Linked DNA regions of Homo sapiens: region 1 is linked to region 2. Evidence: promoter capture Hi-C in 16 types of primary human blood cells and fetal thymus (Javierre and others, 2016). All regions are on one chromosome and are shown on one strand. The core of a region is centred on a gene start or on the middle of the fragment in contact, and the rest is flanking DNA. Distances in the headings are between cores, read along the strand shown.

The links. The method cuts DNA at HindIII sites, captures the fragments that hold promoters and counts their contacts. A CHiCAGO score of 5 or more calls a contact.
Region 1: a contact is called between a fragment that was not itself captured here and the fragment with the promoter of PPBP in region 2, in 2 of 17 cell types (megakaryocytes and M1 macrophages). The highest score is 8.3, in megakaryocytes.

Annotation. Positions count from the first base shown.
Region 1 is chr4:73,710,787-73,715,604 of GRCh38, forward strand. The region is part of intron 1 of INKILN (inflammatory MKL1 (MRTFA) interacting lncRNA); the gene reads right to left. It overlaps UMLILO (upstream master lncRNA of the inflammatory chemokine locus), which reads left to right. Exons shown (of 3, transcript NR_186371.1): 2 at 2,551-2,669; 3 at 3,380-3,741. Among named protein-coding and RNA genes, the nearest start is that of UMLILO, 2.8 kb to the left of the region's middle. The HindIII fragment of the contact is 198 bases long and covers 1,959-2,156 here.
Region 2 is chr4:73,984,742-73,989,722 of GRCh38, forward strand. It overlaps PPBP (pro-platelet basic protein), which reads right to left and starts at 3,449. Exons shown (of 3, transcript NM_002704.3): 1 at 3,215-3,449; 2 at 2,776-2,911; 3 at 1,698-2,633. The coding sequence starts at 3,362. The coding sequence ends at 2,531. RefSeq lists enhancers at 102-615, 616-1,128. The HindIII fragment of the contact is 3,234 bases long and covers 1,647-4,880 here.

The sequences.
Region 1 (4,818 bases), core at 808-3,307, 280 kb before region 2:
GCCCTGGCTGGAGTGCAGTGGTGCCATCTTGGCTCACTACAACCTCTGCCTCCTGGGTTCAATCGATTCTCCCACCTCAGCCTCCCAAGTAGCTAGGATTACAGGCTCCCACCACCAGGCCCAGCTAATTTTTTTGTATTTTTGGTAGAGACAGGCTTTCACCATATTGGCCAGGTTGGTCTTGAACTCCTGACCTCATGTGATCCGCCTGCCTTGGCCTCCCAAAGTCCTGGGATTACAGGTGTGAGCCACTGCACTGGCCCCGTATAAAGAGGAAGATTTTCCAAACACTGATGAAACCTCTAACAACATACTCTGCAGTTCATAGATCGTTCCTACCTAGAATTTAATTCGTATATGCATACTGTTTCTTCAAAGCATTAAGAATGTGCAAACAAGACTTCTTGGAAAAATGAGGCATATGGCATGCACAGTCATGAGCTTCATGGCAGGAGGGCAAGGGGAACACTAAGTCACTTGGGGCCATGAGAAAGGAACTCTGGTCCTGTCCTGTCCTTTCCCAGAGCAGGGATCCTAACACTTCTAAGAGAAGGGCCATTGGTAGCCTCTAGTTCTCAGAACTGTTTGTCCGCTAATGAAAATTAACACACTTGATTTTGGACAGGTTAATGTGAGATATCTATTATTTCCCCAGTGAGATATCATGTTGGCAGTTGGATATATTCAAGTCTTGAGTCAGTTGATACCGACTAGATAGATAGATACATAAATACATACATACATAGAAAATATTAACAGCAAAATGATGCTGATGGCTCAGGATGTGTGTTGAGACAGACAGAACTGGGTTTTGTCATTCAAGCCGTTATTCACACCCAGTGTCACCTAGGCCAAGGTTTGAGCTGCAATTACTTCAACTGTGAAATGAGGTTTCCTTCAACAGATATATATTGAATGCCTAGAATGTTCCAAGCACTGTTCTAGGTACTGCATAGAGCAGTGAAAAAAAAAAAAAACCTGACAAAATCTTCGCCCTTCTTAAGTTTATATTCTAGTGTGTGTGTAGGAAGGAGGGGAACATGGAAAGTCAGGTACTAAATTGGTGAAAAGGGAAAATATATAGTATGTCAGATGCTTACAAGTATTAAAGAATAAAATAATGCAGAGAAGGTGAAAGGAAGTATTTGCTGCAGGAAGAGATGAGGAGCTGAAGATGGTGAGAGTTAGAATTGTAAATAGGACAGTCAAAAAAACCTTCACAGAGAAGCAAAAATTCTAAGGCAGGAGAGGGAGGGAGTCAGGTAGCTATCTGAGAGAAGACTGTTTCAGCAGATGGAAACAGTCTTCAACAGAGGAAAGAGCTATTGCAAAGACTCAACGCCTTGTGAGATAAAGGGAAAAAAATCAATGTAGCTGAAACAGACTGAATGGAAATCAAGAGGCCATAGAAACCACAGAGGGGTTGAAGATGTCACTGCAGTTTTAGGCTGAGAGACTGGAAAGATGGAGCTACTGATTACTGAAATGGAAAACTCTTTGGGAGGAGTATATAATTTTGGACAAGTTAAGTTTGAGATTTCTATTGCTGCCCAAGCGAGTTGTCAAGGAGCCATTTGGATAGTCATATCTGGAGTCAGCAAAGGAGACCAGGCTGTACATACACATGTGCAAATTGTCAGCTTTTGAGGATATTTATAGCCACAAAAAGTGGGGATAGGTAGAGAAGGAAAGAGGTCTCAGTTCCAAGGGATTGGAGTTGGCTACTGTTTAGAAATCTAGGAGGAACCAGCAACAGAATGACAGAGAAACCAGCAACAGGGTGGTAGAGAAAATTCAGGAATGTGTAGTATCCTGGAAGCCAAAGGAAGAGGAAGAGAAAGTAAGCTTCTACGTGAAATGTTGCAGATAAGCTACTTTCTTCACAGCATTACTGCATGAGTTAAATAAAATGCTATTTGTACAAAACAGCATAATATCTGGCACAGCACTGCAGGTAAAGCTTGTTTTCATTTTCTACAATGAAGTTTTAAATGAATATTTAAAAATATATTTTGGACTTCTCAAAGCAAAATGTAATCCCATTTATAATTTCATAAAGACATTTTATCTGCTAATATCAGGACATCATTTTCTCAAACACAATGAAACTTTTTAAATGTGAGAAAATAAAATACTTCTCAGAGGTATTTCATAAAAGCTTAAGATAGACTCTTTTTGCCTCATAACTTTTATGTATAATTTAATAAAAGGTAGTAATGAGAAAATCAGATCTAATATATAGAATTTTGTTTCATAACCAAATTTTTAGAAATAAGTCATCTTATATATTAAAGAATAGCTAGAAGGAGAGAGGGATGAATTTTATGTATAAAATTTATGTATAATAATTTTTCCTTATAAAATTTATGTATAATTTTATAAAAGGTAATAATGAGAAAATCAGATCTAATACATAGAATTTTGTTGCATAATCAAATTTTTAGAAATAAATTATCTTATATATTAAAGGATAGCTAGAAGGAGAGAGGGATGATGAAAGGAAAAGAACAAGACATTTTTCATGCTTACTCTGTGTGACACGCTCTGCAGGGCGCTTTATGTGTGGATCTTTTTTAGTCTGCATATTAACCCTACAAGTTGGAAATGGCTCCTCTCAAACACTGGAGATAGAGCAGCCCAAATGTATCTGCTACTGTGGTGCCTTCCATGTGAGTATTTTCTCCAAATGCTAATTTGGAGAAAACAATTTATATGAACGGAGACACTATTACTTATTTGCCCTCAAAAATGAAAGTGACCCAAGGCTGGAGATAGGAATTTGTCCCAAACAATGTCTTCAGCCACCCCTCCAAACAAAGTTTGAAAGGGATGTGAATAAGTAAATGCAGAATCAGAATTTTCTATCTCTTCTGGCCTAAGTTCTTCATTTCTTAGTTGAAGATAACCAAGGCCAAATCACGTAATCAAATGACAGAAAATTATTCTGGAGACACAACCAGGCATATCAGATCTGTCTGTTTTTGGCTTGTGATGTCCACACACAACACCTGTGAACAGGTGCACTCAGCCTACCAGGAAATGCACTCATCATGTGTCATCTACAGATTTTCTCAAGACTAGAGCATTTGTGAGAAATGACCGTAAGGCTTTCCCTGTGGAGTTGAATACAAAGATTGAACATAGACATTTTGAATAATCCTAGTGACTTGCGGATCCAGTTTCCATAGAGCACTAGTTTCTCTAAGGCCACAGTCACTAAATGAGGTTCCATGGCAGGTGTAAAATCTCACTGGGTGATTGTGTCATGCTGTGCTTACAGCACTATGTTGGGGGAGAAGAGAGGAAAACCTATTATTGAAATCTGTGCTATTTTACATGACCTTTTAATTACTTATTTTTAAAACATCTCTCCTTCTAGAATGCAAAACTCTCTGAGGAGCTGAGAATATGTCTACTGCTACCAAAATTGTAACCCCCATCATCTAGTAAAGAGTTGGTACACGGTGAACATTTGCTGTGGGAATGTATTCTGCTTCATTCCAGAGGCCTGCCAATTCTTAATCTCACTATAGGCTGAAGAGCTGCTCACATAGAATACTTGTAGTGACTTCCATTTTCACCAGTTTAGATCAGTGGACAGAGAGATGCTGAATTACTGCTCAAGAAGTATAGATCCACATGCCTTCAACTTCAGAATCTTAAATTAGAGGCGAATGTTGAGTCTACTAAACTGTATAGTCTGTAAAGGCAGGAACTGTATTTATCTCAGTCATATTTAATCCCAAGAGTCTTCATAGTACCTGGCCCATATCCGTTGTTCAATAATTGGTTTTTTAAATACCTAACTTATTAAACAATGTGTTTGATTAAACAGCAGTGACAAAAAAGGGCTTACTCAGTCTTAAGTGCTAGAAGTAAAGACAGTCATGAGGGGCTTGCAATGAGCTCCACTGGGGGGAATTTTTCTTCTTCACATTTTTGTACAATGAATGTCATCACAGGACACAGCAGATACCCAAGAAATATTATTTTAAGGTATACTATACTCAAAGAAAACCAGGAAAGCCAAAAGACTCTTAATTAATAGAAAACTGCTGAGTCAATAGGATAGCTCATATAAATAAATTGTGTTCAGAATTTGATTTTCTAAATTAAAAAAAATTATGTAGTAATATCTCGAGTATAACAAATGTTTTAAGAATGGATTTGTGAAACTACGGCCATTTAAATAATATCTTGAAATGTTCAAATATCAAATCTTTATTGAATTATATTCTACATAGTGATTAATCAAAAACTAAACTAGATCTTAATTCTCACTGTAGAAAGTAAGTAGTCTTATAATATATTTGTAAAATTAACATTTTAATGTTTAATTATGTCCGTTTGGATAGAAACAAACTTAGAGCTGATAGTGACCCCATTGAGGTCTGATAGGGTCTCTTAACGTTGAAGAAGCAGTAAAATCAGTAACAGCTTTCATTCATCTTCAGGAACTGTATATGGTTATACTTTGTTATACCAATGGTTTCTTAGACTTGTGAACCAGTTATGGATAATAGCCCAATAAGAACAGAATAGTAGCCCATAAATCAAGCTGTGTCTCCTATTCAACTACATAAAGATACAACTATATATATATATATATTTTTTTTTCCAAACAGGTCTCACTCCATTGCTCAGGCTGGAACTTTTATGATTTTTTTAAGCTCATAAGGGAGTAATTCTTAATTGTTAGGTGGAGCTCAAGAAGGGTCAGTGAAGACCCGCAAAGTGGTCAAAATGCCAGGCTGAGCTGCTCTTCAGTTTGGATGCCTGCAACAAAAATGAAACAAAACAAGAAAACAAGCAAAAAAA
Region 2 (4,981 bases), core at 2,199-4,698:
ACGAAAGTCAAAAAGTTTAAAAATTAAGAAGTTTATAAATAAAAAACACAGTAATCTAAGGTTAATTTATTGTTGAGGAAAAAATATTTTTTATAAATTTAGTGTAGCCTAAGTGTGTACAGTGTTTACAAAGCCTAAAGAAGTGTACAGTCATGTCCTAGGCCTTCACATTCACTCACCACTCACACTCCGACTCATCCAGAGCCACTTCCAGTCCTACAAGCTCCATTTGTGGTAACTGCCCTACAGAGGTGTACCATTTTACTCTTTTATACCATAATTTTACTATATCTTTCTACATTTACAGATGTTTAGATACTCAGATATTCACCATTGTGTTACAACTTCCTATGGTATTCAGCACTGTAACATGCTGTACAGGCTTATAGCCTAGGAGCAATAGGCTGTACTATATAGCCTAGGTTTGTAGTAGGCTATACCATTTAGGTTTGTGTAAGCACACCCTGTGATGTTCACACAATGACAAAATCACCTAATGATGCATTTCTCGGAATGTATCCCAATTGTTAAGCAAAACATGACTGTATTTTTGAATATCCTGTATCCAACACAATGGCTGTTGCAGAATGTTTTGTAATTCATATGTGTTTATGAACCTGAAACTTGAAGCCCCTTCTGAGTTAACAGCAGAGAGAATGAAGGGGAGGGATGATTTTGCATATGGATGGGCAACACGCTGGGTTTTTACAGTCTTACACCCAGATTTTAATGTTTGCAGTGTAAAGGAATCCAGGTGGTCCTGAGTGGCAACTGAATCATTCTTTCTCTGCATGTAAACAGAGTAACTCAATACATGCACTCAAAAACAGAAGACATCTGCATCTCGGGAGGTATAAGCATGGTGTCAACACTGTGCCATGTCTCAGGAGCTGGTCTTGTCAAGTTTCAGTGGGAAACCACTAAACATAATGAGTGAGATGCCTGATACCCTATAATTATTATAGTATATACAGTATGCTATTTATGTATCAAGTTGTATTACATGTGTGAATAATACTATGTTATATGTAATGTAATCTCTTCATTAGAGAAAGAAGAGTTGAGGAAAGCACTGTGGTGTGGTGGTTAAGAGCACAATTTGAAATTCCCACTCTGTTACCTACTTAGTTATCTGAAAGTGGGCAAGTATTTTAAACTCTATAAACTTGATTTTTCTCTTCTGTAACACTGGGGAGGATAATAATAATCATAAGAAATAATTACTAACATTTATGTGTGGCTTATTTATGACACACATTATTTTAAATACCTTAAATTTATTAACTTTTTTAATCCTTCCATAAACTCTATGAGGGAGGCAATATTATCCCCATTTTAGGGATGAAGAACCTAAGGTACAGAGAAATTAAGCAACATGACCTGATATACACAGCTAACAAGTGGCAGAGCCAGGTTACCTCATTATTCAAACTCCAGAGGATGTTCTTTTAACCAGATCATATCTATCTTTTAAAAAATTGTTTAGTTCATGCATGGAAAACACTTAGTATTCCTGGCATATTAAAATGATTAATAAATTGGAACTGTTATCATACTACATTAAGAATGACACCGATCATCAATTTAGTAACTTTTGTTGTTCAAACTGTGAAATACCAAGTATACAAAAAAGAGAGGAAAATTAAAGCTTTTTTTCCCCAACAATCCTGTTAAAATTAATAATAGATGACAACAAGTCAATAGCAAATTTTTATTTCATGTGAATATTTTTGTAAGAATAGTGTGGGTATAAGTTTTAGGGTTTAAAAAATGAATGAAAGTTCTGTTGATGAAAAAAGTAGAATTTAGAATTAGGAGTCTAGTAAGGTTGAAGTCCTATATTGTACTTATTTATAAGGCTCATTCTAATGATAGAATTATAACTATGTAGATATGTTAATTCATTTTCATCATCTATTTTTGTTCTACTAGTGGCAAATATATTCACTTTAAACCAGCTAACCACAGTTTATAAGATTCATATTCACCAATTTATTATTTTAGTGTTTGATGGCTAAAATAAACATCAGAATAAACTTTCAGGGAGTATTTTAAATAAGACATCCTAGGACTAAGACACTGAGAGACTCCATTAAGTTCCTAAATATATTAACAAAAATGTATTGAGCAAATATTCTCTGTTGGGCTCCATGTAATTCCTATTATCATTGACCATTATGAAATCTAATAATACCCATGAGTATGTCTAATAACCATAAAGTAGACCAGGAAAAATCAACCAAGTTGTGTTAGAATAGAAATTTTTAAAGAAAAAAATGCAAAGTACAGTCCAATGTTTAGGCAAGAATTAGAGGGTTGAAACCAGGCTTATTTATTTTCATCTTCTTTCTGCCATCTTTTAACCAACCTTCTCAGAATAAAATGTGATTTTTGAGACAGAATGAAACACATATCCAAATTTTAATACAGTAAGAATAGGTATCCTGAATAAATGAGAACTCTAGAAAATCAAGGTTTCAAAATTCTACCCTTCCTGGGAGTTAAAGAAGTTTGGCAGAAACAGAACAAATTAATCAGCAGATTCATCACCTGCCAATTTTTTCTGTACAATTTTCTTGATTCTGGGAGCATCTGGGTCCAGGCAGATTTTCCTCCCATCCTTCAGTGTGGCTCTGCAAAAGAGAACAGGGTTATCTGTGGGTGTCCTGATCTGAATATCAGAACTAATCCATGAGACTGGAGGAAACGAGTGCATATGTGGATGGAGGTAGAGGGTTTCTCTGATAAGGCAATAGCACAGAAACAGCAACTTACATCACTTCGACTTGGTTGCAATGGGTTCCTTTCCCGATCACTTCCAAACTTTGGATGTTTTTGGGATGAATTCCAGAGGTTGTCTTTATACACATGCAGCGGAGTTCAGCATACAAGTCACTGTCTAGACTTTCCTCTAGGGTAGAAAATGTGACCTATTGGTGGTCATGAATATTTTCCTCAGGTCTCTTATTTGCAGATTGAGGGCAATTGTACCTCTCTCATAAAGCCATTGTGAATATGATCTGTAACGCTTTAGTAAAGTGCCCAGAAGATTGCCCAGCACACAAGAAGTGAGAAGTGACCCCCCTGTGTGTCTCCTCCAATTGGAGTTATTGGTATAATGGCCCTCTCCAGCCCCAAAGGCACCAAGCTAGTCTTTACCCCAGAGACAGGTGTAGCAGAAGCAGCAACAAGTGCAGAGAAGCAGGGCCTCTACCTTTGCCTTTCGCCAAGTTTCTCTTAGTTTGTCCTTTGGTGGAGGAAGCCAGAGCAGTCAGCAGCAATGACAGAAGCAGCAGCACCTGCAAGGCATGAAGTGGTCTCGCACTGTTACAGGAAGGGGTGGTATCAAGTCTGAGGCTCATGGTGGAGAAGGCTGAGCTAGAGTTGTTTCCAGAACCAGAAGACCTCTGAGTGAGGGTGAGTTGCTGCCTACAAGTCTGCAGATAAGTGGCTTCTCATGCCCTGAAGATGTCATTTATATGCTCTTTCTCAAAGCCAGTAAGAAGGAAGAGGTAGGAAAGGAGGAAGTGAGGGTATGTGGTGATACACACATAAGCATTTGAAGCTGTGCCCAACCCAGAGAAAGACCAGACAGGTCAAATTCCTACTAACTTGCTTAATGTGCATCACTTCACATTCCCACTCTCCCTTTCTCAATACTTATCTTCCTTACACCTGTGTAAGAACTCCGTTCAGGAAGGTAAGAACTAGACTGAAATACTACATGCATTTTCTTTGTATGATTTATAACAATACGCCCTGCCTTTTCTATACTGCAGTTTTTAGGCTTAATAGAAACTTTAGGAGCACCTGAAGGCACAAACATGTGGCCCTTGAAAGAGAAAGTTATCTTTGCTTGCCAAAGAAAGCAAATGTTCTTTTCATGAATGTTGATAAATATTGGGATTGGTTTGGAGCATGTAAGTAAAATAAGAGCCAATTACCGTCAAAGGTTGTCTTTGGATTTTAGCTTATTGGATTCTTTCTGCCTTCAATCTATATTATCTTTTGTAATTTCATCTAGAAACTACAAATGAAACTCATCCTCCTTTATATTACAAAAGAAGCTACTTGTTTCTACCACCTAAGAATACCTAAAAAGTAGGACCCAGCATATTTATTTTTCTTTTTATTTTTAATTTAACAGAAAAATTATATAATTTATTGCAAAAGATTCGTATGCTGCAGATGTCTTTGAAATAAAACACAAATTTCTCTTCATCATTTCTCCACATTCCTACTATTCAGTGGTAAACACTGGTAACAATTTTGCATTAGTTTTCAATTCTGTCTGCACTTATATGCACACATGTATATGTATACAATGAGACACGTTTAAGACATAGAGGTACACATATACATAGAAGTATTGTATATGGATCACTATACAGCTGACTTTTATCCTTCAAAAAATATGTGTTCCTTATCTTTTCAGGTCATCTTAATGTAGTTTTCCCCCATTCTTCTTAATGACCATGTGACGTCCTGTGATAAGAACAATAGTTACTCAACCTTGCCTTGTTGGTGCCCTTCACGGTGTTTCCAATTTTGCACTATTAGAAATTGTGCAAGAAATGTCCTTACCAAGGAAAATATTTGTTCCTGAATTCTCAGACCCAAATTAAAGGTTTTGGTCTGAAATGCTATATCCCTACAAAGATAGAGAGGTGGACCTACACATTACATGTTGGCTTTATGTTATTTTCTGGTTCTCTGTCCCATCTGTAAGACTTCCTTCCTCAATTGAACCATGCACTTTTGTAGGGAGTGGCATGTCCTGTGTTTGTTTGAATGTCTCATGTATCCTATAACATGTAGGATACTTCAATATAAAGTAGGTCTTAAATAATTAATAAATCAATGAATACGTATCACATGAAAGCTTCCCTATCCTTTCTAATCACCTACAATTCCAGGCCAAACTCGACAGGACCCAAAGCAACTATGCTATTTAAATTTATTTGGAAGATTGTCAATAAAG